7 separate regions of the Homo sapiens genome follow, and all the other regions are linked to region 1. The links are contacts of gene promoters, found by promoter capture Hi-C in blood cells and fetal thymus (Javierre and others, 2016). All regions are on one chromosome and are shown on one strand. The core of a region is centred on a gene start or on the middle of the fragment in contact, and the rest is flanking DNA. Distances in the headings are between cores, read along the strand shown. Region 1 holds the start of C5orf67 (chromosome 5 putative open reading frame 67). Region 2 overlaps MAP3K1 (mitogen-activated protein kinase kinase kinase 1). Region 3 has its middle 120 kb from the start of LINC01948. Region 4 has its middle 97 kb from the start of LINC01948. Region 5 has its middle 77 kb from the start of LINC01948. Region 6 has its middle 61 kb from the start of LINC01948. Region 7 overlaps LOC105378979 (growth/differentiation factor 3).

Evidence for each region. Contacts are between HindIII fragments. The CHiCAGO score rates a contact against its expected background, and 5 or more counts as called.
Region 2: a contact is called between a fragment that was not itself captured here and the fragment with the promoter of C5orf67 in region 1, in 4 of 17 cell types (total B cells, non-activated CD4 T cells, neutrophils and 1 more). The highest score is 6.2, in total B cells.
Region 3: a contact is called between a fragment that was not itself captured here and the fragment with the promoter of C5orf67 in region 1, in 2 of 17 cell types (naive B cells and total B cells). The highest score is 6.6, in naive B cells.
Region 4: a contact is called between a fragment that was not itself captured here and the fragment with the promoter of C5orf67 in region 1, in 1 of 17 cell types (naive B cells). The highest score is 7.3, in naive B cells.
Region 5: a fragment that was not itself captured here is called in contact with the fragment with the promoter of C5orf67 in region 1 in 3 of 17 cell types (total B cells, naive B cells and neutrophils); the score reaches 9.9 in total B cells.
Region 6: a contact is called between a fragment that was not itself captured here and the fragment with the promoter of C5orf67 in region 1, in 2 of 17 cell types (naive B cells and total B cells). The highest score is 7.0, in naive B cells.
Region 7: a contact is called between a fragment that was not itself captured here and the fragment with the promoter of C5orf67 in region 1, in 3 of 17 cell types (naive B cells, neutrophils and total B cells). The highest score is 10.0, in naive B cells.

Annotation. Positions count from the first base shown.
Region 1 is chr5:56,604,350-56,608,379 of GRCh38, forward strand. It overlaps C5orf67 (chromosome 5 putative open reading frame 67), which reads right to left and starts at 1,907. Exons shown (of 6, transcript NR_161255.1): 1 at 1,673-1,907. The HindIII fragment of the contact is 384 bases long and covers 1,566-1,949 here.
Region 2 is chr5:56,855,419-56,859,448 of GRCh38, forward strand. MAP3K1 (mitogen-activated protein kinase kinase kinase 1) reads left to right here. Exons shown (of 20, transcript NM_005921.2): 2 at 1,182-1,332. It also overlaps the pseudogene LOC124901214. Among named protein-coding and RNA genes, the nearest start is that of MAP3K1, 42 kb to the left of the region's middle. The HindIII fragment of the contact is 944 bases long and covers 2,109-3,052 here.
Region 3 is chr5:56,361,017-56,365,046 of GRCh38, forward strand. No RefSeq gene overlaps it. Among named protein-coding and RNA genes, the nearest start is that of LINC01948, 120 kb to the right of the region's middle. The HindIII fragment of the contact is 2,721 bases long and covers 332-3,052 here.
Region 4 is chr5:56,382,855-56,386,884 of GRCh38, forward strand. No RefSeq gene overlaps it. Among named protein-coding and RNA genes, the nearest start is that of LINC01948, 97 kb to the right of the region's middle. The HindIII fragment of the contact is 3,095 bases long and covers 850-3,944 here.
Region 5 is chr5:56,402,301-56,406,330 of GRCh38, forward strand. No RefSeq gene overlaps it. Among named protein-coding and RNA genes, the nearest start is that of LINC01948, 77 kb to the right of the region's middle. The HindIII fragment of the contact is 917 bases long and covers 1,269-2,185 here.
Region 6 is chr5:56,419,043-56,423,072 of GRCh38, forward strand. No RefSeq gene overlaps it. Among named protein-coding and RNA genes, the nearest start is that of LINC01948, 61 kb to the right of the region's middle. The HindIII fragment of the contact is 1,299 bases long and covers 1,054-2,352 here.
Region 7 is chr5:56,764,979-56,769,008 of GRCh38, forward strand. It overlaps LOC105378979 (growth/differentiation factor 3), which reads right to left. Exons shown (of 3, transcript NR_172721.1): 3 at 1,417-4,030. Among named protein-coding and RNA genes, the nearest start is that of MAP3K1, 49 kb to the right of the region's middle. The HindIII fragment of the contact is 2,833 bases long and covers 852-3,684 here.

The DNA.
Region 1 (4,030 bases), core at 657-3,156:
ACCAATTATATGTGTGAGACGATCTGCCATGAACTACTTGGTCTCTGCTGGCCATTTTAGTACTAAAATTTATGACAGCACTAAGCAAAACTCCCAAAGTGCAGAAAGCTGGGGGCTGGGGCAGATCAAGTCAAACATGTCGCCTACACAGGCCCCTCAGTCTCCTTCCTCAAGCCAAGCTTCCACTCTTCCCCCCGCCCCGGGCCACTCTCTGCAGGACAGGGTGTTCAGAAATTGCTTGAAAAGGGAGAATTATCTTGAAACCAAAGACATTCATTTAGACTTGAACAAAGGTGGTTGTTTGAGGGAATACTAGGGAAAAAACAACTTAGAAGAAGGGAAAGGAGGCATATAGATGGAAGTTAAGTCAGACTCCACATAGTTTCAATTAATATGATTTTTGGAAAGGCTCTTACATCCTCATTTCTGTGGAGGCCGACTTGGCCAAAGTGCTGAACCAAAGTTTTGCCATATAGAACACAGCCACACAAACAGGCCCCTCCTAGTCAATCACTGAATCCAGCCTCTCCAGACTCAACAATCTGACTTAGGATCTCAGAATTCCAGGAAATACTAGGGATGGCTTGGCTGCCTCCTTGGTTATAGGTGAGGAAACAGGCGAATGGTGAAATGACTTAACCAAAGTTCCCAGAGCTGGCACATTTATAGCTGAGATCTCCCAATACTGTTGTCTTACTCCTGCACGCAAAAATTAGTGGATGTTTTGTTCTTTTTTTGTCTTTCAAAGGACTTGGTTTCATTGTTAAAAGAAACCTCACTGCAAGTTACCAAGCTGTCAAACCCTGAGGCGGGATGAGCCACTATTTTTCAAATCCGTGCACCAGTAGTGCTTCTGTGACATCACCCAACACAGAATATCTTAAAATCGATTTCAGGAATGGATCTCGTAACCAAAAAACAGCTTGTTCAGAAAGGGGCACCTATGCACGTAGCAGATGCCTTCTATCTGGTCTCCATCTTCTATCAGGTCTCCCTTTCTCTCTCTTTATTACTGCCCCCCACCTCTGGGAAACTGCCACACCCAGCCACTAAGACCAAGACTTTGCGCACTAAGACTGTGTCGACAGATAAGCAGAAAAGTACAGCACTAGTTTCATCTAGTGTTCTGCCCTGTGTTTCAGTTGAGAGAAATTTCACACATATACACAGACACAGACACACACACACATACTCTCTCTCTCTCTCTTCCTAAGAAATGAATATAGAGCAGCTAAAACCAGATAAGTTCTAGATCCCTGAGGCTTGAGACCCAAGCCTGAGACTGTTCTTAATTGGCCTCATTGACAGCAGATGCCCAGCTCCTCTGCCCCACTCTCTAGGATCCTGCACAGATGTGGCCAAATTCTTCCCCACCAAACCAGCTTTAGACTCTCCTGGGCCTGGCGATCCATGCCTTCTTCTTCACCCCTCTCCTGAAGATTCCTGTGACTATGGGTCTGGAAGCCCTTTCTGCCAAGACACCACTTTCCTCTTCTGGTCTCATTTGGTTTGTCTGACCCTTGGCTGGTTCTAATCCTTGGTGGATTCCTTCACATACTGCTCTAAGCTTGCCCTTTGACTGCATTACCTCGAGCCTTTCTACAAGGCACCAGCTCTATTTCCTGGCCAGAAGTAGAAATTCCCTCCCCCGCTGCGCAGAAGTCCCACTCACAGAATTCGGCTTCATTGCTTCTCTGCCTCTCCAGCTCCATTCCTCGAAGAGCAGAGATGACAAGATGTAGGTTCTGTGTATGCATCCATGTTCTCACTGATGGCTCAGCCAGCATCTCTAAAGTTTTTTTTAATGATTAAGGGCCTTTGGGTTCCCCTGTGGCACTTCCTTGGAGGTAAGGGCTCAGGTGAAGTTGTTCATTTGGCTGTTGATCCCAGGGGAGCACAGGGAATATGAAACAGGGAAGAGAGGAAAGCTAATAAAGAATGTGTTAAGAAGCTTTGGGCAATCAGGGCTTCCTCTAGCAGGAAACCCTTAGGAGACTGCAGAACATTCCTTGGAATGAGGGCAAGGACTTTGGATTATTTATCCAGCCAGGACTTTCCCTCTTTGGCCAAGGGTCATTCCTTGGGCAATAATTCCCTGGCACTTGCAGACTAACCTGTGTGCTTCCAAGCTCATTTCTTTTTTCTTTTTTCCTTTTGTCTTTTTTTTTTTTTGAGATGGAGTCTTGCACTGTTGCCCACGTTGGAGTGCAATGGTGCGATCTCGGCTCACTGCAACCTCTGCCTCCTGGGTTCAAGTGATTCTTCTGCCTCAGCCTCCTGAGTAGCTGGGATAACAGGTGCCCGCCACCACACCCAGCTAATTTGTTGTGTTTTTAGTAGAGATGGGGTTTCACTATATTGGCCAGGCTGGTCTTGAACTCCTGACCTTGTGATCCGCCTGCCTCGGCCTCCCAAAGTGCTGGGATTACAGGTGTGAGCCACCATACCCAGCCGCTTCCAAGCTCATTTCTATGGCTGAAGAATGCCCTCAGGCAGAGAGAAGCAGGAGGTTGTCTGTCTACACAGCATGTGACTACAGCCAAACTCTGGGGTGGCCAAGGGGACATGGGTTGGACACCAACAGCGTCTGCTACAAAAGTGGTTGTTGCCACCCCTCAGAATCCCCCTCTCTGTGTGATCTTCCAGATTCAATGTAATACGTACTGAATGCTGCCAAATATAATGTACCAGACTAGACTCAGGTAATCACAAAGATGTGTAAGACAGAGTTCTTCTCCACACAGAACTTTCAATTTGATGTAAGAGACAAACAGAAATAAAAGTCTTTATAGAAAAGTAAGTCTTTATAGAATAAAGAAGAATATGAGAAGGGCTGTATTAGAGCCATGAATCACTGGCTGTGAGAGCTGCGGGAAGATGAGATTAATTTTGACTAGAGGGAGAAGGCTATCAGGGCAGTTTTCCAAAGCTAAAATATTTTAAACATATGCTAAATCGACAGACATCCAATTCCCACCAAGAGCAAAAGAATAAACATTCTTTCGCAGGGCCCTAAAGCCAGAAAGCAGTGAAAGAATTAGAACCATTTTATCTCAATTCACAAAAGGAAATAAGTGACATCTTTCAGTATCACCCCATCTTCTAGATGCAACGTTTAAAACCAAGTCACAAGAGCAAGATGTTCTTCCTGCTCCACGTTCAACTATGCATTTGAAATCTGTTCTCATTTGTCGAAATGAGCAATTAATTAACAGTCTTTGTGAAGTTCTCAGACTCAACAAGTGTGCCCCTCTCCTGCTGCCTCTGCCACAGGCAGCCACTTTGCATGTCCCTGCTTTTGAAAGACAACTTAGGAATGAAGCTAAACGAGACATCAGCAGTTTTCCAAATCCAGGTGAAGAAAGTGAATGACTTCAGCATGAAAGACAGGGCTGGGGCGACAGGGGAGAGCAGGAGACGGATGAGTCAGCCCATGTTCGTGGAAAGCTGGGGTTTGTTGGAAGAATCTCAAGCTTTCATTTTGTGGTGTTTGGAAGCTTAATTCCCAGCTTCTAATTAAACATATAAACTGTAATCACAAAGGTATTTCACAAGTAGTTCCTTGGATGTGGCAGGGGTTCTAAGAACCAATTTGAGATGCAGGGAGGAGCGGGAAAGGCGTGGAGAGGAAGCAGGCCTGGGAGTGAGAGTGTACTGGGCTTCAGGAAGCTACCTGCTGAGGAGGTGCTGGGGACCCCACACCTGAGCTCCACACTGGAGGGATGCAGACAGAGAGGATGGGGATGGAGCCGTGCAGTGGGGCCTTTTTGTTCTTCTTGCCCAGGTCCTTCTCTCCTGCCTCTCTGGCTGCCCGGCTCCAAGTCAGAGACTTGAATATGCAGCTGGAAGTTTGGGTATTGGCAAGAAATAGCAACTGCACCCCACCTCACCATTCAAGTTCATATGTGGCCCTGCCCCTGCCACCCTCTCAGAAAGGAGATGCTAACGGGCAATGACAAGGAGGAAGTTATGGCACAATGGCAGACTTAAAGTGCCCAGTCATGCTATTACTGCACTCAGCTGAGAATTC
Region 2 (4,030 bases), core at 1,331-3,830, 250 kb after region 1:
TGTTATGTATTCTTTGTATTTCTAAAAATGTCTAGGCCAGTTGCTGATACAAAGATGTTTAATATGTTGCCTTCTACTTTCCTCACAGTCTTGATGCTTCAGTGAAACGGGTTAACCGTTTCCTTTCTAGTGAATATTTTTTTTTAAGTAGTTTCTTCTTCCTTTGGCTGATTCTCTGAAGATCGTACTTCATAGTTGTGATTAGCTGGAAAATTCCTAGAGGAGTTTGAATTTGTCTTTGTAGTAAACTTGAGGTTCTTGTTTTTGGTATTTCCTTGAGTATTTCCTTTTCCTATCAGTGTAGAAAAACTGTTCTCTAGCTTTAAAGACTTTTCAAAATAGTTACTGAAATTAGCTTAGTATTTTTAAAGTTGTTACTAATCCCAAGGTGCAGTTGCTTTAACTGCATCCTTATAAATCAGGTTTTCAAATCTATGCATATCGTGTATGCATGTATGCTCATGTGGATATGGGTATATTTTAAAATTAGTGATTTTCGTGAGCTTGATGCTTTGCCTGTTAGGCTTTGTAGAGTTAATTCTCAAACGTTCTTAGTTTAGAGATTGTTTTATTCTGGTAAATCCACACCATTTTATGGAGTAAAGATCAAATGTTTGTACTGGATAATTTTTATTCTTTATAGAGTACCCCAAGTGCTTTGTTATGAAGTCACTGTTCTATGAAAATAAAAATTTAATCATGTAGGCTATGAAAAATTGTTTTGGGGTCATAGATGATGTAGTTAAGTTTCACTTCACTTATTAAATATTTATTGAGCTTATTTCAGATAAATCAGCATATCCACCAGATTCTATCTGTATTGACTTAATTTATTGGAAATCCTGGGATAAAAGTGTAGTAATACACCCTTCTAAATATTTGTTATTTGGGTGGTAGAATTAAAAACAATGCAGTCTTAGTGAATATATTTGTTAATATAGTGCTTAATGTCTTGGGATTCATTTTGTTAACTACAGTGGAACATAGGTCTGCATGATATATGTCAGTAGTATATAATTCAGAATCTTTTCAAGCTTTAAGTCATTTGGGGTTTTTAGCAGTTATCTTTTTTATTACATGTCCGTTGGAAGTATAAAATAGAACCATCCATTCTGTTTGTTCTTGGAAATTATTTTTCATATATACATTTCTCATTTTATTTGTTTCTGCCTGCATTTTAGTCGTGAGATGGAGAATAAAGAAACTCTCAAAGGGTTGCACAAGATGGATGATCGTCCAGAGGAACGAATGATCAGGGAGAAACTGAAGGCAACCTGTATGCCAGCCTGGAAGCACGAATGGTTGGAAAGGAGAAATAGGCGAGGGCCTGTGGTAAGTGGCTATGGGTTACCAGTTATAAGGAAGAAAGCATAGGAGGAAATGGAAAAGTAAGCATAAATAGATCCTCTTGTAAGCTTTTCTTCTTCATTTTAAATGTAGTAGTTTTCTTTACTTGATATTGTGGTCATTTGGAAGAAACCATAATTAAAACTGTGCTCATTAAACAACTTAAACTATTCTGGGAACTTAACTGTTGTGTTTGGTGGAGGGGTAAATGCTTAAACCAAGACTGCCCTCTCATGTCAGTATCTAAAATCCTTTCATTGGAGTTTTATACTGTACTTGTAAATTTTAAAAAGAATTTTTCCAGTTTATTTTAGATGTTTTATCTCTAAGACAGGATCCAAGGATCTTAATTTCAGAAATCTTCTAGGAAAGAAAACATTTAATTGCAGTAATTCATAAGTGTAATGATTGGGTTTTCACATGCATGCATAAGATGTGCGTTTCTCCAACTTTGTTACAGTGTCAGCATGTTATCCTCATTTGACATGAAAAAATGTTTAATAGACCTATGGGGATTAAGATAAATTAAAAATGTGTGGGGTTTGATGAAAGAAAATCTAGAGTCCTAGATTTTAAAAAGCAGGGATACTCTGTCCTTTGCTATAGGTATAAGAATATATATTCTTATAAGAATACCATCATGAAATGTGTGTCTTCATTCTTACAAAGGAAGAAGTATTACAGTATCCTAGCACTAATCTCTCTCAGCAAGTTTTTATTTTGTTCTTTTAAAACAGATATGGCAACTTAAAATTCATCTAAGCTTTGACAAGGGTCTAAATACACCCCTGCCAAGTGATTGTCTGCCCTACATTCATCCCATATGCCTATTTAAGTTTACATTTAAATTAATTAGATGTAAATAAAAGTAAAAATTTAGTTCCTCAGTCTCACCAACTACATTTCAAATGCTCAGTAACCACATGTGGCCAATGGCTACCTTTTAGGCAGTGCAGTTTTAGCACATTTTCACTGCCTCAGAAAGCTCTCTTAGATGTGTAGTACTGACTCGTGTCTGACTTAAATAACTCAATAATCCCTGTGGCTTTCGATATCCTCATCACTGAGCTGCAGTCTGTCAGGAATATTTTACCCACTGGTTCTCATTCTAACCGATGGAATTATACAGAATAAATCTAATTGTTCCTTTCCATACCAGCACTTGGTAAGTTATTATGGGCCCGTGAGTCCTTGTCTTTACAGCTAAGTTTCTACATTTCTTCCATTTATTACTCACGTGAGGTGGTATGGTGGGAACCCCTCACCATTTTAGCTATTCGTGCCAGAAGGTGAATATGAAGAAATTAAGGATTTATCTTAGAGAAGAGAAAGTGCTATTGAAACATCTTGTAGAATGTTGGCAGTTAAAAGGGCATATTACTACTCAATCAATATAAAGAACTTTTGAACAAGCAGAGCCATCTGAAGTTTGAATGTGCTGCTTTCTGAGCTCCTTTAGATGGAGGTGTTCAAACAGCCTAAATCTTTTGAGAATACCGTAGGGCATAAATCACAACTTTTTAAAAATGAGCCAGCTATTTGTTCTTTATTATACATGAACTAAGAATATCCAGTTCTCTAAAACAAAATTTTGGTTTTTATACTGTTCACTTTCTAGCAAGTACCAAAGTACCTTGTCTGTATATAAGACATGAGTGAAGAGGGAGGAGATGTGTGGAATAAGATGCATAACACATAGTCCTTAAGCTTAATTATGCCACCCTACATTTTATGATTTACGGATTTCGTATTATCCTTAGGAAGTTTACTGTTTACTTGGGAGGTCTGATTTTGTTTGTTTTTATACTTTAAGTAAGTTGTGTCAAATCATTCTTGAAACATAAAGGGTAAATATCTCCAAATGGGAAAATTAGACTTATACATAATAAATAGAGTAATACATGAAATATCACAAAGCAACTTGTGACTAGGTGCCAAATGTGTGGGATGGGCAGAAGAGCAATAGGGACTTAGGAAAGAGAAGGAATGTCTTGCTGGTAGACTTCAGGGAAGTTTCATAAAAGGAAGAATTTTAACTCAGCGTAGAAAGATGGGTAAATTTTCCTCATGTGAAGGTGTACTGCCTGGGGTGCTGCAGGCTGGAGATGAGTATTAAAATAGGAGGAGAGTGAGTGAAAGCACAGGAGGAGGAAGGGTCAGGCAAGTTTGGTGAACACAGCAACTGGCTATAGAACAGGAGCAGTGGGAGAAAGTCCAGAAAGGTCTGCTGAGCTTCAGTTGTACAAAGCTGTGGAGTTTGGCCTTTGGTCATGGCTAGATTAGGTCTGAAAGCCTTAATTAAAAAAAAAAAAAAAAAAAGGCAGGTCTTGTAAACTGCATTTCTGCTTGAGAAATTGATCTTTAAACTTCTAGTCTCTTTTGGTTTTCTGAGATACACATCTAACCTATTATTGTAATATAACATTGTAAAGAAACACACACACAAAGCAGGGAAAATGATTGCATAGTGATCAAACTATTTGAAATTATGCCCAGTGTTGTTTCAAGGTCCTACATTTTGTAAAAACAAATAAAAACGTACCTAGATCTTTGATCTAGTAGTTGAATAAGTTGACTGTAGAAGTTATGAGTGCTTATTTTTCACATTTGTTTAATCACCTTTGATTGTTGCTTTTGAGTGTTAAATGAGTTAGGGTATATAATAACAAATAATACCATTTCT
Region 3 (4,030 bases), core at 442-2,941, 240 kb before region 1:
AACGCCTGAACTCATTCCTCTTATCCAACGGTAATTCCGTAATTGTTAATCAGCATCTCCCCATCCTCCCTGCCCCGCCACCCTTCCCCGCCTCTAATACCCACGATTGTACTCTACTTTTTCTTAGCTCTCTCATGCATGAGAACATGTGGTATTTATCATTCTGTGCTTCTCTTATTTTATTTAACATCATGTCCTCTGTGTTGCTGCAAATGACAGAATTACATTTTTTTTGTGGCTGAACAGTATTCCATTGTGTATATATATCACATTTTCTATTTAACTTTTATTTTAGGTTTGATGGTACATGTGAAGGTTTGTAATGTAAATAAGCTTGTGTCATGGGGGTTTGTTGTACAGATTATTTTATCACCCAGCTACAAAGGCTAGTACCCAATAGTTATTTTTTCTGCCCCTCTCCTTCCTCCCATCCTCCACCCTCAAGTAGGTCCCAGTGTCTGTTGTTTCCTTCTTTGTGTCCATGAGTTCTCATTATTCAGCAACTACTTACAAGTGAGAACATGCGGTATTTGGTTTTCTGTTCCTGCATTAGTTGATAAGGATAATGGCTTCCAGCTCCATCCAGGTTCCCACAAAAGACATTATCTCATTTTTTTATGATTGCATAATATTCCATGGTGTATATGTACCACAGTCTTTAAATCCAATCTGTCATTGATGAGCATTTAGGTTGATTCCATGTCTTCACTATTGTGAATAGAGCTGCAATGAACATACAAGTGCATGCGTCTTTATGGTTGAATGACTTATATTCCTCTGGGTATATACCCAGTAATGGGATTGCTGGGTTGAAAGGTAGTTCTGTTTTCAGCTCTTTGAGGAATTGCTACATTGCTTTCCACGATGACTGAACTAATTTACACTCCCCCCAACAGTGTTCTTTTGGGTTCTTTTTTCTCCACAACCTGGCCAGCATCTGTTATTTTTGGACTATTTATTTACTTATTCATTTTTGAGACAGAGTTTTATTCTTGTTTCTCAGGATGGAGTGCATTGGCGCAGTCTTGGCTCACTGCAACCTCTGCCTCCTGGGCTCAAGCAATTCTCCTGCCTCAGCCTACCAAGTAGCTGGGATTACAGGTGCCCACCACCATGCCTGGCTATTTTTTTTTTGTATTTTTAGTAGAGATGGGGTTTCACCATGTTGGCCAGGCTGGTCTTGAACTCCTGACCTCAGGTGATCCGCCTGAGGTGCTCGGCCTCCCAAAGTGCTGGGATTACAGGCGGGAGCCACTGTGCCCGGCCATTTTTTGACTCTTTAATAGCCATTCTGACTGGTGTGAGATGATATCTCATTGTGGTTTTGATTTGCATTTCTCTAATGATCAGTGATATTGAGCTTTTTTTAAATATGATATTTGGTCACATGTATGTCTTTATTTTGTTAACTTTCATGTTTATTTATTTTTTTTTGAGGCAGAGTTTCATTCTGTCACCCACACTGGGGTGCAGTGGTGGGATCTTGGCTCTCTGCAACCTCTGCCTCCTGGGTTCAAGGGATTTTTGTGCCTCAGGCTCCTGGGGAGCCGAGACTACAGGCGTGTACCATCACACCTGGATAATTTTTGTATTTTTAGTAAAGATGGGGTTTCATCATGTTGGCCAGGCTGGTCTTGAACTCCTGACCTCAAGTGATCTCCCTGCCTCAGCCTCCCAAACTGCTGGGATTACAGGTGTGAGTCACGGCACCCAGCCCGTCTTCTTTAGAAAAGTGTCTGTTCATGTCCTTTGCCCACTTTTTAATGTTTTTTTTGTTTGTTTTTCTCTTGCAAATTTGTTTAAGTTCCTTATAGATGTTGGATATTAGACCTTTGTCTGATACATAGTTTGCAAAAATTTTCTCTGCTCTGTAGGTTTTCTGTTTACTCTGTTGATAGTTTATTTTGCTATGCAGAAGCTCTTAAGTTAATTAGATGCCATTTGTCAATTTTTGCTTTTGTTGTGATTGATTTTGGCATCTTCATCATGAAATCTTTGCCTGTTCCCATGTCCAAGATGGTATTGCCTAGATTGTCTTCTAGGGTTTTTATAGTTTTGGGTTTTACATTCAAGTCTTTAATCCATCTTCAGTTGACTTTTTTATATGGTATAAGGAAGGGGTCCAGTTTCATTATTCTGCATGTGGCTAGCCAGTTATCCCAGCACCATTTGTTGAATAAGGAGTCCTTCCCCACACTGCTTATTATCTGTGCTATTTCTAGAATTATTTGCAATTAATGGATTCAGAAACTGAGGCTCAGTGTGTGTGTGTGATTTGCCCAAGTTTCCCTCTCTACCATTTTCACTCTATACCTGCGGTTCTCAAGGAAAGACGATTTTGCCCCCCAGGGGAAGTTTGGGACTATCTGGAGACATTCTTGGTTGTCTCAACTAAAAGGTGCTGTTGGCACCTATGTTGGGTAGAGGCCATGGTACTGCTAAACATCCTAGAATGTACAAGACAGCACCCCCCTCCTCCCTGCACACACACAAAGAATCATCCATCCCCAAGTGTCAACAGCACCAAGGTTAAGAAATCCTGCTCTATATATTCTCACTTTAAAGTTTCTCTTTGATTTCAACTACTATCTTTATGCTGGCAACCTTTAAATCTATATTTGCTATTTCCAAAGCTCCATGGTCTTGTTGCTAACTGCCTAACAGAGACTTCTACCTGATTTTCATTTGGGAATGTTAAACACAATAAATTAAAAAGTAATATTCTGAACCTCCTATATTCTGATCTTGATCACTGCCCCTACCATCTAGGTTTTCTCAAGTGAGAAACATGATTGCAATGTGATATGGTTTTGTTATGTCCCCACCCAGATCTCACTCTGAATTGTAATAATACCCGTGTGTCAAGGGCCAGGCCAGCTGGAGATAACTGAATCATGGGGGCAGTTTCCCCCATACTGTTATCATGGTAGTGAATAAGTCTCATGAGATCTCATGGTTTTATAAATTGGAGCTCCCCTGCACAAACTCTGTCATTTCTGCTGCCTTGTAAAATGTCCCTTTGCTCTTCCTTCATCCTCTGTCATGATTGTGAAGCTTCCCTAGCCATGTGAGTCCATTAAACCTCTTTCTTTATAAATTACCCAGTCTCTGGTATGCCTTTATTAGCAGCATGAGAATGGACTAATACACCACGCTTGATCTTTTCCTTGCTGTTCTCTTCCTCACTTTCCCCAATCCAATCATGTGACATATCTTTCAAATACATCTGAGAGACATCTCTAGCCATTGGTCTCCACTGACACTCTTAGCACTGGTCCTCATCATCTCTCAGGACAAACTCTAGCAAACCATGCCTGGAACTCTTCTTGGCAAACCATGCCTGGAACTCTTCTTAGCACCCATGAGGTATTATCATCCTCATTTTAGAGATGAAGAATGAAGGTACACAGAGATTAAGTGATGGAGTTGATAAAGGAGCTAGGCTTTGAACACAGGCCAGACTCTTGTCTACTGACCATTACACTCAGGTACCTCTTGAATCATCTTGGCCTCAACTTCTATGTTTTCCTACATGAACCATGTGCTCAAGTTATTCTGAAGATTCTCCTTGCTTTCTAGGGCTTTTTACATTTCCTGTGCCATTGAAAATGATATTTCCTCTATCTGGAATGCTCTTTCTTCTTTGCTTGCTGTTAGTTCCTACCAGTCTTCCAAGACCAACTCAGATAACAGCTCTTCAAGGCAGGAATCATGTCTTATTTATTATTTTTTAATCCCAGCACTGTATCTGTTTCATAATAGGTACCCCAATATCTATTAAATAAAAGAAAATGATTATTTCTCTTTCTACTACTTCCAAGGCAAAGTTATTTTGCAAATATTTTCTATTGAAAGCAGCTCCATAGATATCCCATTCCTGCCTTAAGGCAACTGATTAGAAGTGGATGCTTGTGTATAGGTATATATGAGGGCAAGATTCTCTGAAATATATTGACTATATGAATTCAATATATACAGTAAGTCCTCACTTAATGTTATCAATATGTTCTTGGAAACTGTGACTTTAGGA
Region 4 (4,030 bases), core at 1,147-3,646, 220 kb before region 1:
GATATTTAAAAAAGATCTATAACTATATGTTATCTATAAGAAACCCACTTTACACATTAAATAAGTTTATGGATTAAAAGTAAAGAGATGGAGAAATATTTGCCATGTAAATACTAACCAAAAGAAAGAAGGAGTAACTATGTATTAATTTTAGATACAGCAGACTTCAGATCAAGGAACTTACCAGAGATAAAGAGGGGCATTATGTAATGACAAAGGGATAATTCTTCAAGATAACAATCCTTCATGTGTATGCATCTAACAACACAGCATCAAAATACATGAGGAAAACACTAATAGAAATGCCAAGAGAAATAGATGAATCCACTATTATAGTTGGAGACTTTAACATCACTCTATCAGATATGACCAGATCTAGCAGGCAGATAATCACTAAGGACATATAGCCGAACTCAACAACACCATCTATCAATTGCATATAGTTGACATCTATAGACTGCTTCATAATAGCAGAATTCACATTCTTCTGAAGCTCACATGGAAAACTCACCAATATTGACCACATTCTGGGCCATGAAACAAACCTTAAGAAACTTAAAATAATACAAATCATAAAACGGTTGCTTTCAGACCTCAGTGGAATTAAAACTACATATCACTAACAGAAAGATAGTTGGAAAATCTGAAAATATGTGAAGAACACACTTCTAAGTAACACTTGGGTCAAAGAAGTCTCAAGAAAAAGTTTAAAATATTTTTGAACTAAATGAGAATAAAAATGCAAGTTATCAAAATTTGTAGGATGCAGTAAAAGCAGCGCTTAGAAGGAAATTTACAGCCTTGAATGCATATATTAGAAAAGAAGAAAGTTCTAAAATCAATCATCTAAGCTTCCACCTTAGGAAACTAGAAAAAGCAGAGCAAACTAATCCAAAATAAGCAGGAGAAAATAAATCATAAAATTGAAGATGACATTTAAAATAGGAAATCAGTAGAGAAGATAAAAAAAATTCAGGCTCTGGTCGCCTCAGACACTATGAAACCCAAAGGCTGGAATGGCTAAGTCACCCAAACAGCAAAGCTAGCACCCCCACCCCCGCGGCCCCGCCCCGCTCTCTCTGGGCGTACCATGTTGGGGGAATTTAGATCTCTGTCCGTGGAGAGCTTGAGCCGGGCAACTGGAGGTCCCAGTTGGAAGGTCCTACCCAGTGAGGAGGAATGGGATCGGGCACCTACTTAAATCAGCAGCCTGGCCACGTTTTGGTAGAGCAGCTGTGCTGTGCTGGGGGATCCCTTCCACCCTGGATTGGCTCAGACTCTCCAAAGCCTGAAAGCTGGAATGACTAACGCATCCGAACAGCAAAGATGTCACCCCCTTGCCGAGCTTCTTTTTATGGGGCTGCAATGCAGCTATTGGTAGCTGGCTGGAATTCCAAGCCAGTGGGTCTTATCTTGTGAGATGCTGTGGAAGTGGGATCTTCGGGCTGTTGCTGCTCAGCTCCCGGGATTCAGGCTCTTTCCTAGAAATATGTGTGGGAGTCTAACCTCCCACTTTGCCAGAGCTGCAGCTGCTTTTGCTGGAAAGCGGAAGTATCTAAGGCTCCAGGGTCTGCGCGCAAGCCTGAGCTCTGCCGAAACTCCACCTAGCTCTGTCCCTCTGACTCAAGACTGAAGGCCCTGTTGGGTTCACAAGGAGATCTCCTGACCCAAGAGTTGCGAAGATCTGTAGGAGAAACGTGGTTTTCCGGGGTCGCACATTTGCTCACCGCTTCCCTAGGTGGGGGAGGCTCCCCTGGCTTTGTGTCATTCCTGGGTGGGCCACTGTCCTGTCTTGCTTGTAAATACTGTTTTAACAGAGCATTCATACTGGGAAAACATGGAGTTAATAAGATTAAAACCAGGCTATGATAGGGATAAGGCTTTCAATGTCTAGACATTTCTCATGATGCTTCTACAAAAAACCACCACAAAAGAAAAAAAACCCAGCTATTAAAATGCTAAAAATTTCAAGATTAATAAAAATTTTAAGAGATGAAATAAACAAAAAAGAAAAATCAAAAACAAAATAAAAGATACTAAGAAAATAATGAAAATAAAGAAAAAGGTTTGCATCAAGCAACCTCAGATAGGATTCTTTTTTTTTCTTTTATTATACTCTAAGTTTTAGGGTACATGTGCACAACGTGCAGGTTAGTTACATATGTATACACGTGATGAGTATTCTTTAGTTAAGTGGAGAGAGGAAAGAATTTTGTCTGAAACCACGAAATGAGTCTAAGTGAGAAAAAAGACTGGACAGCCAAATCTCACTGGCTCCATACTACCTGAACTGTCTTCTGGAGCATTCCTTTTATTTATCTGCTGGAAACTTATGGGAAACATTATCTTACAGAACATTTTTTAAATATCCAAGATTTTAGAGACTGCTTGCTAAGATAAACCCTGATTTAGAATCCATGTGAGAAAATCCTTGAGGAACATAAGGAGCGATTGCCTGAGGGATTCTCTTGCATCTTTATCCAAAGGACTCAAAAAATCAAATTCAAAATCCATCTCTATTATCTTCACCTCTAATTAATATTGGAGTATCTAGATTGCTATTTACTTCTCTCACAGACCCCTGGCAAATAATACATCACCCTAATTTCATAGAAACTACCCCACAGTTGAATTCCTCACCCATCTGATGTCTCAGCATTAGGATGTGAAGACTGAAAAAATGGAAGAATACGGATCAAAAAAAAAAAAAAATCATTCTACTTACCCTAAGGCCAGTGTTTTAGTATTGCAGGGAGGTTCTATCATCCTTTAGTGCTCTTCTCTTGAGTGTTGTTGTTGCTGTTATTCTTTTCTTTCTCTTTCTTTTCTCCTTCTCTTCCTCCTCCTCTTCTTCCTCCTGCTTCCCTTTCCTCTTTCTCCTTCTCCTTCCTCCTGCCCCCTCCTCTTCCTCCTCTCCCATTCCCCCTCTCTCCTCCTCCTCTTTCTTATTCTTCTTCTAACCTTTCTATTTAGTTTACCCCAAAATCATTCCAGTCCTAAGGACAGTTAAAGATATCTTGTTCCCATGGAGAAAGGAAGAATAAAATATGTAATATCAGGGATATAACCTAATTTTACAAACAGAGTTAAAAGAATTACAGCTTGTGACATAATTTTTAAAACAACATATGTTCCCTCTGTAGTGATTACCCTTCACCAGACGATCTTTGGTTATTCAGGGAATTATAATAACATTAAATCAATTTTCAAATATCATTGAGGCAGTTTGCTATTTGCCAGTTGAATTTCCTCATCTACGTGGTTTCTGGGAGCTCCAGCAGTACAATCAGTTGGTGAGTGGTACTTTCACAAGGTTTCTTGGTCTTATTGGAGTTATCAGCCTGCAACCTTCAGGAATCAAGGCCTCTTTGCTGGGCGTTAACCAGAAGTCTGGGTGGCAAATTGTGTGGCTCTGGGGTTTGTTGATGCTGGTTTGCATGAACAAGTTGTGTTAGCTCTAAGCCCAGTTGATGGTTTTGGTTATGCAATTACTTGAGCCCTGGTTTCTTCATCAATCAAGCAAGCCTCAAATTTCCTCCTCTTTCTCAGTTTTGTGATTTTTGACATTAGCAGAATTTAAAATACAGGATGGTTGCTAAGCAGTTTCATAAATGGAAACCACATTTGTCAAATGAGCTCCACACCAGGAAATTCAGCGAGAGGATTCCTGGGTATCCTCAGTCCTAGCCTGCCTAGCATCTCACGTGAATTGGAGTCTGTAATGTCCTCCCAGAGGGAACTGGATCTAGCCAGTAGGCACAAACATTCTTTTGGTCTTTCCAAAAATTTTCTGCAGAAAATGCCTATGGGACAACTCACTGTGAAGTTGAAATTATATGCAAGTGTGTATACAATTAAATTTCAAAATAAATGCCTTAGAATTGTGTGTGTTTGTTTTTTGCTAATTTGATGGTAAACATGAAAGCCCAAAGTGTCCTGGGAAAAGCTTTGTATTTTTCTTTAAGCCACAAATAGTCTAATTAGACTTGAAAGAATGCACTTCCAAAGCAAAATAAGACAAAATAGAACG
Region 5 (4,030 bases), core at 477-2,976, 200 kb before region 1:
CATTTTGTTCCCTGAAGGATAATTTGGAGATTTGAGTAATTAACCCAAGACTCATAGGAGGCAGTCTTTCGGAGGCTGGTAATTTTGCTGTGGTGGAGTCGGCTGCTGTCAAGCATTAACTTCTTAATAATGAAGCCTTTCAGACCCTCTGCTATTGGCACAATGATGCACTTGAAGCTAGTGGCTTGGCGGAGTGTAAGCGGGCCACTTCTATTCTTTCCTTGGACAAAATAGTCCTCTTGATCTCTGGGTTGGAGCTATTTTTAGTTTAGTTCAGTTCTTTTTTGCTTTTTAACTTGGTGGGCAAGTCTTTCACTTATATTTTGATCCACTGCTTAATCTGTTGCCTTTTTTCAAAAAGACCTGCAAAAAGGCACCCTTCCCAATATCCAGCAGCTAGTCCCCCCTTTCAGTATATTTAGAATCCTCTTTTTAGAAAAGCTGTGACTCAACTCCTGCACTAAATGGGACCTTGCTTCTCTGATCCCAGTACACTTCCTGCTATTAACATGGTAATGTCTGTGGTGCAGCACTGGGGACAATCACACCTGCAATTAAAAACCAAATTAGGATGTATCTTTTCTTGGCAAACAGGATCCACAGAAATTCGAAGACAGCTGCTGCCCCTCCCCTCCCATTCCCACTCATCTTTTAATTCCCTCTTTCGAGCTTTGAGCAGGGAAAAGAACTAGAAATTTCTGGTTGTTATTTGATGAGTCAGTATTTTAACTGATTCGGCAAATACTGAGTGCTTACCATGGAACAGACTTTTTATCAACTTGAGATAAGCAGAGCCATTTTATCAACTTGTCATTGTGAGCTCTGTGACTAGGACCTATGTGCTTTGAAAAGGATTATGAAAATACAAGACCTAATGTATTTGTATTATAATATATATAGCAATTATACACATACATATATAACAATCCCATAAACACAAAATTAATCAATGGTTAATGTCGACCAGCAGCATTCTATCAACTTAATTAATTATAGACCTTAAAACAAAATCCCAGTACATTTGCAAGCAGTTTATAGGTAGATTTTCCAAAGATTTCCAAATATTCTCCTTATAAACTAAATTAGTTTTTTCATAATCAAATAATTTCAAAAAACATGTTTTATTTAAAATTTCTAAAAATTCTTTTCGTGCCAGAAATTACTGTTCATGTGAGATGTATATTGTCAAAATGCTTCATTTGAGAAGAGCCTCTGAAGGCTTTAAAGTAGCGCAGTGAGAGCAGATGGGGGGAGTTCATGGAGGTAGAAGCTTACGATTCTGTGTGGACAAGGCTACATATAATGCTAGGACCCTACTTAAGAAGATACAAAGGATGTGTCTTAGCGACCTGCTGCATTCCTGTTAATACTCAGCTATTAATACAAAGCACACATTGTTCCCAGGTAGGTCTTACTATTATCTGTGCCATTGATGCCCCTTGGAATATTTGAAGACAATTCTCATGTCAACTCAAAAGTTCTGTCTTGGCCAGGTGCGGTGGCTCAAGCCTGTAATCCCAGCACTTTGGGAGGCCAAGGCTGGCTGATCACCTGAGGTCAGGAGTTGGAGACCAGACTGGCCAACATGGTGAAACCCCATCTCTACTAAAAATACAGAAATTAGCTGGGTGTGGTGGCAGGCACCTGTAATCCCAGCTACTCGGGAGGCTGAGGCAGGAGAATTGCTTGAACCCGGGAGGTGGGGGTTGCAGTGAGCCGAGATTGCGCCATTGCACTCCGGCCTGGGCAACAAGAGTGAGACTCCGTTTCCAAAAAAAAAAAAAAAAAAATTCCTTTCATTTCTGTTTCTTTCTATTCCCTGTAGAATATTCTGGTCACTTTCTTTTGCTCATTCCTCAGTTTTGGGTGCCCCAAAAAGGAAAATGCCATATTCCAGATGTGGTTTAATGAATACAAAGTAAGTGGGAGTCTTGCCATTACACTAGAGTTTTATCCTTATATTAACTCAACTTCATCATGTTTTGATGCATATTGGGCTTGTCCTCAACCAAAACGCAGAAGCCCATGGGTCCTTTTCACATCAGTGATGCCAAGTGGATCAACTTCAACCAGTCCTTGTGAAGATGGCTTTCTGAATGTCTTTGCATTTAGGCTTGTTAAATACAGTTTTGTAAGTACCTCCTTCAACACAAACCCTATCATCAAAACCCTGATTTTGTCATCAAGCTTAGTTATTATTCTTCCCAGCTTTGTGCCTTCTTAAAGTTGACAAGCTGGCCTTCTGTGTTGGAGAGGACAGAGGTGAGCAAGCATGGAACTGGTGACTGCACCTTGGGGATTACTGCAAAATTATGTCTGCCTTTGTGTTTAACTTGTCCCATTACCTACAAAAATCCAACAAAGGAATTGTTCTCTATTCTGTCAATAAAGACACAACAGATTATTTCTTTAACGTTTCACTAGAATAATGGTATTCTGATTTTCAACAAATATTCAGGCAGGAATAGTGCTTCTGTAGTTTCTATTTGCAGCTTAATATTGTATGTCACATATAATGTTAACATGATATGACCCAAGATTCACATATACTAACTCGTTATGGCATTTCTTGTAGGAACAAGGCCTCTGAGTCTAGGATGATGAAGTTAAATTTATGTGAGGCCAAAAAATAAATAAAAATAATGGCTCTGCCCCAGTTGTTGCATAGCTATAAGGTTAGATGGGACCTGGATAGGTCATTTTATCATCCCTCTACCCCCTATTAAGTCATGCTATAAATCTGTCTTCATTTTCCTTAGGCCTTCCTTTGTCTACCTTTTTCAAAATTTTCCATAAACCATGTTTTCTGAGTTGTCATACACATTTTAATTTTTGAAGGTTTAGGGACAGTGTCCAATTCAATGTTCCTTGTTTGGCTTTGCCTCTTGGCCCAGATCTAAAGTTCTTGGATCTCTGATAAGTACTTAATGGCCTTGGGGACGCGAAAAGAAGAGTGGGCCTTGCTCTGGATTAAAGGCTCAGAAACCCAGGGAAGGCGCCACATTCCCTGGCTGTGTTAATTAGCCATGCCTGTTGCTAGTAAGTCTCTGGAGATATTTTACTAGGATCACAGAAGCAATTTGCAATGCCCAGAGTGGGGGAAAAAAACAACACCCAGGCTTTATAAATCTCATAGAAAAGAACTTTGCCTTCTCCAAAGAATCATTCTCCTTATATTTAACATTATTTTTTTGAAACCAGAACAAGGGAACATAGAAATTGAACCTCTGTAATTCAAAGTGAACTATGGAAATGCATTGCTCTTTCCCCACTTGTGTAATTCAATTCAGTGTTCTTACTCTGCAACAAAACCTTTACTATTAATAGCTGAAAGCATGGGTTTATAATCATTTTTAAAAATTCTATGGATCTTATCCATGGAATTTATTTGCTCTTCAATACTATCTTTCCCCCCAGGGACTCATTACTCATTTACACATCTAGAAAGTAAATAGTGTGCCATTAACTAGAGAAAAATGCAGCCTCCAATTCATGGCACCAGGATATGGGCTTTTTTTTTTCGTTTCTTTCTTTCTTTTCTTTTTTTTCAAACAAGACAAGCATTTGGAAACAGAATACTTTAAAAGGAAAAGATCAGAACTTGTTTTTCAATGAGTTGAGAACAACAGCCACCATTGTAGCCCAAAGCAAGGGTCTTAAAAACAGTTCAGGGGAAAAAAACCCATAACAGACTATTACATATAAGCTGAAGATTTAGATTAAATATTCTTAAGTCCCAAATGGATTTCAATTTCTATCTTAACGTGTTTATCTATTTGCAAATTTAATCATGACTTTTAAAAAAAGACTTCAGGGTTCTTATAAATTGAAAACATTGGTAGTAATTATTTTAACTAGAAATGGGGACATATTTTCATAGCAGCTATTGATCTGTGGCCTAATTGGCACCATAGGGAAAATTCTTCCCAGTATTCTCTGGGTTGGGAAGAATAGTACATGATCTGGTTTCATCAAAAGACTATAAGCAACATAGTGAGAACTTGTCTCTTAAAAAAAGGACTGTGGGTCG
Region 6 (4,030 bases), core at 453-2,952, 190 kb before region 1:
GTCACTGATATGGTTTAGCTCTGTGTCCCCACCCAAATCTCATGTTGAATTGTGATTCTTGGCATTGGAGGTGGGGCCTGGTGAGAGGTGATTGGATCATGGGGGCGGTGTCCAATGGTTTAGCACCATTGCCCTAGTGCTGAGATACAGCTCTCATGAGATCTGGTTGTTTGAAAGTGTGTAGCACCTCCCCTGTCATTCTGTCTCCTGTTGGCCATGTGAAGATGTACTTGTTTCCTCTTTGCCTTCACCATGATTGTAAGTTTCCTGAGGCCTCTCAAGAAGCAGAAGCCTGTACAGCCTGTGGAGTCATGAGCCGATTAAACCTTTTTTTTTTTTAATAAATTGCCCAGTCTCAGGTAGTTCTTTATAGCAGTGTGAGAATAGACTTACACAGTCACCTAGCCTCGCTGAACCTCAGTTTTCTAACTTCATTAGAAATCCTTTTAGATTGGCCCGCTTATCTCTTTATACAGATGCTGTAGGAATAGAATTAGCAGGATAAAATACCTAGAAAAATTAAGAGACTTATTCAAATGTATGCTATTTTATTTAAGTACTAGTTTATTTTTCCTTTCTTGACCCCAACTCAGCTCTGAGTAGAAAAAGTGACCAGGAATGTCAAAAAATTCAGCTCCAGATCTAAGAGGAGTCTAAGTAAGTTCAAGCAGCAGGTCTAAAAGAAATAAACCACTCACCCCCTGCTTCCTATTCTCTTTTCTGTTTGATTTTCATAAGCATCTTTGTGGATGGGTTAACCTTAAGTGTGTGCTGTGGTAAAAATGTTGTGATAATATCATGTTCTGTGTTCTCTTGTCCTGCCAACATGAGAATCAGAAGGAGGAAGTGCAGATGAGCTGGAAGAGTGAGCTGCATCAGTAAATATGAGCTGAGCTATTCAGAATTTTGACAGGCCCCAATAATTTCTGAAACTGTGCACGCACATGCACACACACACACACCCCTACGATGACCTTCTACCTATGTGCCAGACACTTTTCTAAGAATTGATGTTACACAATGATGAAAAATACATATTCCCTGCTTTCAAGAAGCTTGCATTCTAATGAGTGAAGAATAAAATAGTGAATTCATAACATAAATTAAATTCAAATAATTATATGTGCTATGAAAAAAATCCAAAATAATTAAATAGAGAGTAAAAGGGAGGTGAGAATGGGGCTGGAGTTGACAAGTAGAGAGGTAAGAGTCAGACAAGAGAAGGTGACATTTGAACTGAAATCTGAGTATCCAGAGGCACCAGCCAGGGAAATATCTAAAAGAAGAGCTGAAAGATGAGTTGGAATGAATTCACTGAGGAAAGTATGCAGGAAAATGAGGTTGCAGAGGTAAACCACAGCCAAATCAAAAGCAACTTTTAGTCTATGATCTTGGAATTTATTCTAAGTAGCATAGGAAACTCTTAGGAGAGTCTGATCTTTGATTTGTGGATTAATGTCTTTCATTAACCTTGGATTAAATCTTAGCCATTATCTCTATAAATGTTTCTTCTGCCTTATTCCTTCCTGTTCTTTAACACCAGTTTCCTGTATATCAGACCATCTAACAGTGTCTCACATCTAAAACATTCTATTGTTTTTCTTCATTCATTTTCTCTTTATGGTTTAGTTTAAATAATTTCTATTGAACTGCCTTCAAATTTACTGATCTTTTCTTCAGGATCAGTAAAGGTTGTGTTCAGTATTGTAGTTAAACACATTGAATGAATTTTCCATTTCTAATATTGTAGTTTTCAGCTCTATAATTTCCCCTCAATCCTTTTAGAGAGCTTCCATTTTTATGCTAAAGTTCCCTGTCTGGCACAAACTAATTTCCTAAAATATTTTTGTTGAATGAATAAATTGGTTTTGCTGCTCTGTCAGGAAAAAGGATTTTTTAAAATACAGAAAAATGTTCACATCTGTACTGAAAAATTTAGTGTCATAAATTAGTGATCTTCCACTAAGACTCAATAACTCATGGTACAACCAGGTGATAGCCATTTCATTTGAATGTTTTGCAAATTTAACCTTATTTTGGAGACAGCTAATGTAATAAGGCACTCTCATATTACTAGTATTCTTATACTTGGTCAGTTCCTTCTGGAAGCTCATAGTAGGACTAGACCCACAGGCATATAAACATCAAGGCACTTTGCTCAATAGTGCAGAACTATAGCAACCATAATAAATGTCTCCTTTTGTGAATGATTTAAATAAAGCCAGAATGCCTTTGGGTTAGTTTTTATCCCTGGAAAAAGACAAATCATTCCACTGGCAACATATAGAATATGTTCCTTGGAATAAATGACATATGACTTAAATTTCTTCTCTCTAGAGGATAGTTTTGGCAAGCTTCTCTATGTGCAAATGTGAAAGATACAGTTTTCACCTGGAGTAGAAAGTCCCGGAAGTCTGTCCTGCAGAGCAATCACTAGAGTGCTAGGAATCCCAGAATTTAACAAGTAAAATTCAAAAGAAAAGTAAAAGTGAAAAGGAGAAGTCTCAAGTAATCCATTAAATGTTTCTGGAGCAGACAAAACAAAATAACAAGGCAAGGCTGTGGAGTTGCATAACAAGAAAAACATAAATGCATATTTTCCAGAAAGCACTGGCCTCTCACATAAGTTTAAAGAGACTGATGCCTCTGGCGAGGGGATTATACTAGAGTTGCAATCACCTTTATGTTTTATTAGTGCTTATTATTACCATGGTGAACACAATGCTATCTGCTTCCCTGAGTGTGTTTGAAGTATAGGAAAAATCCAAAGATTTTTATAAAGTGAGGGATGGTGATACAGTACAACTCCTACGTGCACATACATATGGACGTACACAGAGAGAGACTCAAAAGAGTTGCATTTTAATTTCTCAGCAGAAGGAAACTTAGATTCTTTCATATCCATCTGTAGTTTCTAGACATTATATGGAGAGACAGAAATCTGAATTTGGCCAGTGGCGAGGGCTGCCCAGGGTTTAATTAGATCAGCACGCAGACTGGGATATGCTGACCTTTTTTGTCCATGCTAAGCCTATAGGCTGTATTTCTGAATGCCTCCCTCTCTGCAAACTGTAACAGGAGCTTTCATTTTAAAGTGCTTTCCAAACTTTATTCCTTATTGCCCTTGAGGAGAGGCCCTTATTAGTCTCTCTATTTTGCTGACTGGAATGAACTGACCTGCTTAAGGTCCAGTGGGAATTAGTGCCCAAACTGGAATTACCACTTTGGTACCTTTGGACCAAGTCCCAGGAACTGGCTGTTAAGGACAGGGCTATTGTGGTTCTTTCTCCTCCTGCTCTGTCTCTGCAGAGTTAACCCACTCCAAGGAATCGTTTTTGTCCGTCTGTGAGCTTTGGTTTTGATTTCTGCTAACTGGATATAACCATATTTATGGTATTTTCTGATCTTGTCAAGTGTATTTGTGCTATTTATGATGTTGACAAAGGTTCACTTTTGATTAACGTTAAGGAACTACTCTGTGCCAGGATCTATATACGTCCTCAGACTTACAAAAGTTAGACAGCTGGACACATTCTGCTCCTATGTGTATATCCTTGGAAAATTTTCACATGGGCCTGTGAGGGGTACGAATAAGGACACAAGGTTGTTTTTTTTTTTTTTTTTTTTTTTAATGACAGTGAAAGTTGAATGCAACTTTTTTTTATCAGAGAATTTTCAGGTTATTCATTTATTCAAAAAATATTTATTGAGTGCCTGTGACTTGCCAGGTCTCAGCAAAACCATCAATTATCCTGCAGCATTCATGGTTGGAGCTGCGCTCAAGTCTTCTAGGGCCTTACTATTGTAATACTGGCTGCCCACCCAGAACTACCAGCATTTGAACCTCTTTGTCTGGGAGGCTTCCTCTGGTTGCTGGAACCTGTCTGCCCCAGGGCAAGCTGGAAGTGTTGAAGAACTGATGCCTGCCTGCCCATGCCAGCACCTTGCAGCAATGACTGCTCCAGCTCCCTCCAGCTCCCTGGCTCCTCAGGTGGAAAGACCAGCAATGCTCTACACTGGCTCCCAGAGC
Region 7 (4,030 bases), core at 1,018-3,517, 160 kb after region 1:
GAAATATGATTTGGGACACTGAAAAATTTCAAATGCATTGCTAGTTTGATTCCCACACCTTAAGTTTTAAAGCTATGATAAATTTTCATTTTTTTTTTTTTTTTTGAGATGGAGTCTCACTCTGTCACCCGGGCTGGAATGCAATGGCGCAATCTCGGCTCACTGCGACCTCCGCCTCCCGGGTTCAAGTGATTCTCCTGCCTCAGCCTCCCAAGTAGCTGGGATTACAGGTTCACACCACCACGCCCAGCTAATTTTTTGTATTTTTAGTAGAGATGGGGTTTCACTATGTTGGCCAGACTGATCTCGAACTCCTGACCTCGTGATCTGCCCTCCTCGGCCTCCCAAAGTGCTGGGATTACAGGCGTGAGCTACCGCACCCAGCCTAAATTTTCTTTTAAAAATTTACTTCCAAGATAAAAATAAGCCTATCATGGTTGCGTTTGAACTATCCAGAGTTAACACGCATCCTATGATCTCAGTTTACCTTTAAATTAACATAAGTGAGAAAATTCATTATTCCAGTTCAAATTAGAGAATGTCTTTTTTTTCCTTCCAGCCAAGAGACATGCAATTTAATGCCAGGGCCTAGTTTTAAGAATTAGAATTCTTCTATTTTAAAGATGGAAAAATTGTAAACTGAGTAGGTAATGTTTCTCTAGAGATGTATATAGAAGCATTTGAGATTTCTCCTACTAGGAATCTGTAGATGGCTACTTTTTACCTCAATAAACCACTGTTCCTCGGTTTCCTCTTTCATAAGACAGCACCTTCCTGATAGTAAGAGCATAGAAGAATGCCTTGCACCAGACACTCAATAGTGTAACCTATTACAAATTAATTCACTTTAAAGCTTCCCATTGCTTTTTCCTTCCAGGATAACTTTTATTGAAATATAAATACATGCAGACATGCACGTAAGTATACGGTTTGATGAATTTTCACAAACTGAACACACCCTTGAGGCCTCTGCCCAGATTAAGGGTCAGAACATCCCCCACACTTAAGAGCTCCTTTTATACTTGCACCCCACACCCTACCGTCAGCTAACAGTAATGTTAATCTAACAACATTTGCTTTGCCATTTGTAAAACATTTATTGTGGTAAAATATATCTAAAACTTAGAATCTTTTTTTTTTTTTAGGCGGAGTTGCTCTCTTGCCAGGCTGGAGTACCATGGCATGATCTTGGCTCACTGCGACCTCCGCCTCCTGGGTTCAAGTGATTCTCCTGCCTCAGTCTCCCAAGTAGCTGGGACTACAGGCGTGCACCACCACGCCCAGCTAATTTTTGTATTTTTAGTAGAGACGGGGTTTCACCATGTTGGCCAGGATGGTCTCCATCTCAACCTAGTGATCCACCCGCCTTGGCCTCTCTGAGTGCTGGGATTACAGGCAGGAGCCACCACGCCCAGCCCATCTTAACCATTTTTAAGTGTACAGTTCAGTAGCGTACTAAGTGCAATCCCATTGTTGTACAACCACCACCAGCATCCGTCTCCAAAACTCTTTTCATCTCACATAACTGAGACTCAATACCCACTCAGCAATATCTCCCTATTCCTCTCTCCCTCTAGCTCCTGGCAACCACCATTTTACTTTGTCTTTATGAATCTTACCACTCTGGATTCTTTAATATAAATGGAATTGAAGTGTTCGTCCTACTTTTGCCAATTTTTGTTCTCTACCTAAGTAGAATCATACAGCTATGTTTTACCCTGTATCTAGCTTCTTTCCCTCAACATGTCTGTGGGATTTATCAGTTCATTTAGAGTTCTACTTTGTTTCTCCTCGTTAAATAGTACTCTCCTATGTGAGTATGCCACAATGTATTCTACTGGTGATGGGCATTTGGGTAGTTTTCAATTTGGGGTTTTTACATGTAGTGCTGCTATATCTTTTGGTAAAATATGTGGCTAGAAATGAAATTGATAGAACATAGGGTATGCATGTATTCAGCTTTAGTAGATATTCCTGTTGCTTTTTATTAATACATTCAAGTCACCAAAGAGAAGTGATCTTTCATCTTACATGAAGGAAAGCAATTTACATATTTGAATTCACATGATGCTGTGGACTCTGCCCAGAAGAGTAAAACTGCCCACCCACTCAACTCCTCCCACCGCAAACCCCACATGCCAGCTCTATTGAGCTTTCTCTGCTTAGCTGAACAGCCGTCTCCTACTCTTTCCTCCCTAGGCCATTGTGGGTGCTGCTTCACTCAGCCTGCACCCTCTTTGTACCTGGTTTGATGGCTGTTTGTCTCTCAGACCTCAGCCCCTTTGAGAACTAGTACCAAAGCACAAAGTATGCTTCCTCAAAATGCATGTCATCACGAGTCCATTCCTGTTGGAATGTAAGTCTGAAGATGAGGCTCTGGCATTCTCCTCTTGCCCAGGTCTTGCCACTTACTACCTCTGTTTCTTTATCTTTTAGGAGTTGTCTGCACATGCAGATTAAACTTATTTTGAGCCTCCATTCTGGGTTCCCATTGACATAAAACATGATGCTTAGAATATACACAAATCCAAACCACTTAGATCGGTATCAGCAACCAGGTTCAATCCACTTTCCAATAGTTGTACATAACACCATTTTACTGCTCTAGATGATGTCAAGTCTAAGGACTCACTAGCATTTAATAACACCTAATTCAAACAGAACAAAAAACTGCCCAGTAGCACCTTCCAAAGACTAAGTAGAATGACAGAAAGCACTGAACTCTGAGTTGGTCTTCCATGTTGGACAAAAAACAATGCTCTGAATCTACATGGTTTCATTACAGAATTGGAAGAGTAACGTGGACTGATGCCATAAAAGTAATTCCAGTTAACAGTTCCATTTACACTAAAAACAGTAAACTAGATCACCAAGAAATAATCCAAGTAGAAATTGCCATGGCTTAAATGAAATAAAAGTGAGGTAACTCATTCAGATCTTTTTCTCCATTAAATGTAAAGTTATATCATGTTCATGGGTGGGAAGATATAGACATTCAGACATCTTCCATGAGAAAAACAACTTAGTGTATGGTACACATTCTTTCAGAATCCTAAGTATACATTAAAACTATAGGAATTAAGTTAATATGGACATGAAAATGAACAAAGATTAGTGGATTAGAATAGAATGTTAGAAAAAACTTATTAGGCTTAAGGAAATTTAACATGTGATTTAAAAAATAGTGCCCAAATGAAGGTGGATGAAAGTTCAAATAGTCAATAAAAGGTTAGAACAGCGGGCTATTAAAAAAAAAAAAAGACCTGTATCAGATAAGAATGTATTTGACTGCAAGTAACCAAAAAACCAAACGAACAGTGGCCTAATTAGAGATACAATTTCTCATAAATTAGAAGTCTCTGCTAGTATTGGCCCACCTGCTCAATGATATTCTAAGGTGAGTTGACAGTCTACAGCCCACAGGCCAATCATTACACTTTTGTACAACTCAAAAATGAAGAATGGTCTTTACCTATTTTAAATGGTTGGAAAAAAGAATATTTTGTGACAAGTTACATTAAGTTTAAATATTAGGGCCCGTGAATAAAGTTTTACTGGAATACAAAGATGCTCATTTACATTTCCTCAATGGCCATTTCTATGCTTCAACACCAGAGTTGAGTAGACAGAGGTTGTATGGCCTACAAAGCCCAAGATATTTACTATCTGTCCCTTTACAGAAAAAGCTTGCCAATCCCTGCCCTAAGGAACCCGTACTCTTTCCAGCTTTGCCATCTTTGTTACATTGCCCCCAGTAATGTAGTACATTATTACTGTAAACTAGGCCCTCAACTCCAAAGTAGAAGCCTTCTTGGAAACCCTGCAGACTCCCACTTACATTTGACTGGCCAGAGATTGGCACTGCCAGGCCTAGACACAAGTGGCCTGGGCGCCTCCAGCTCTCCCTACCCAGAAGTATTAATGTATAAATAAGACCATGAACACAAGAACTACAAGAGGCAGAGTGTGTATGATCTTTTTATGGGGATGACCAAATATGAAACCTAGAACCAATAAAGTCAGAGATGGA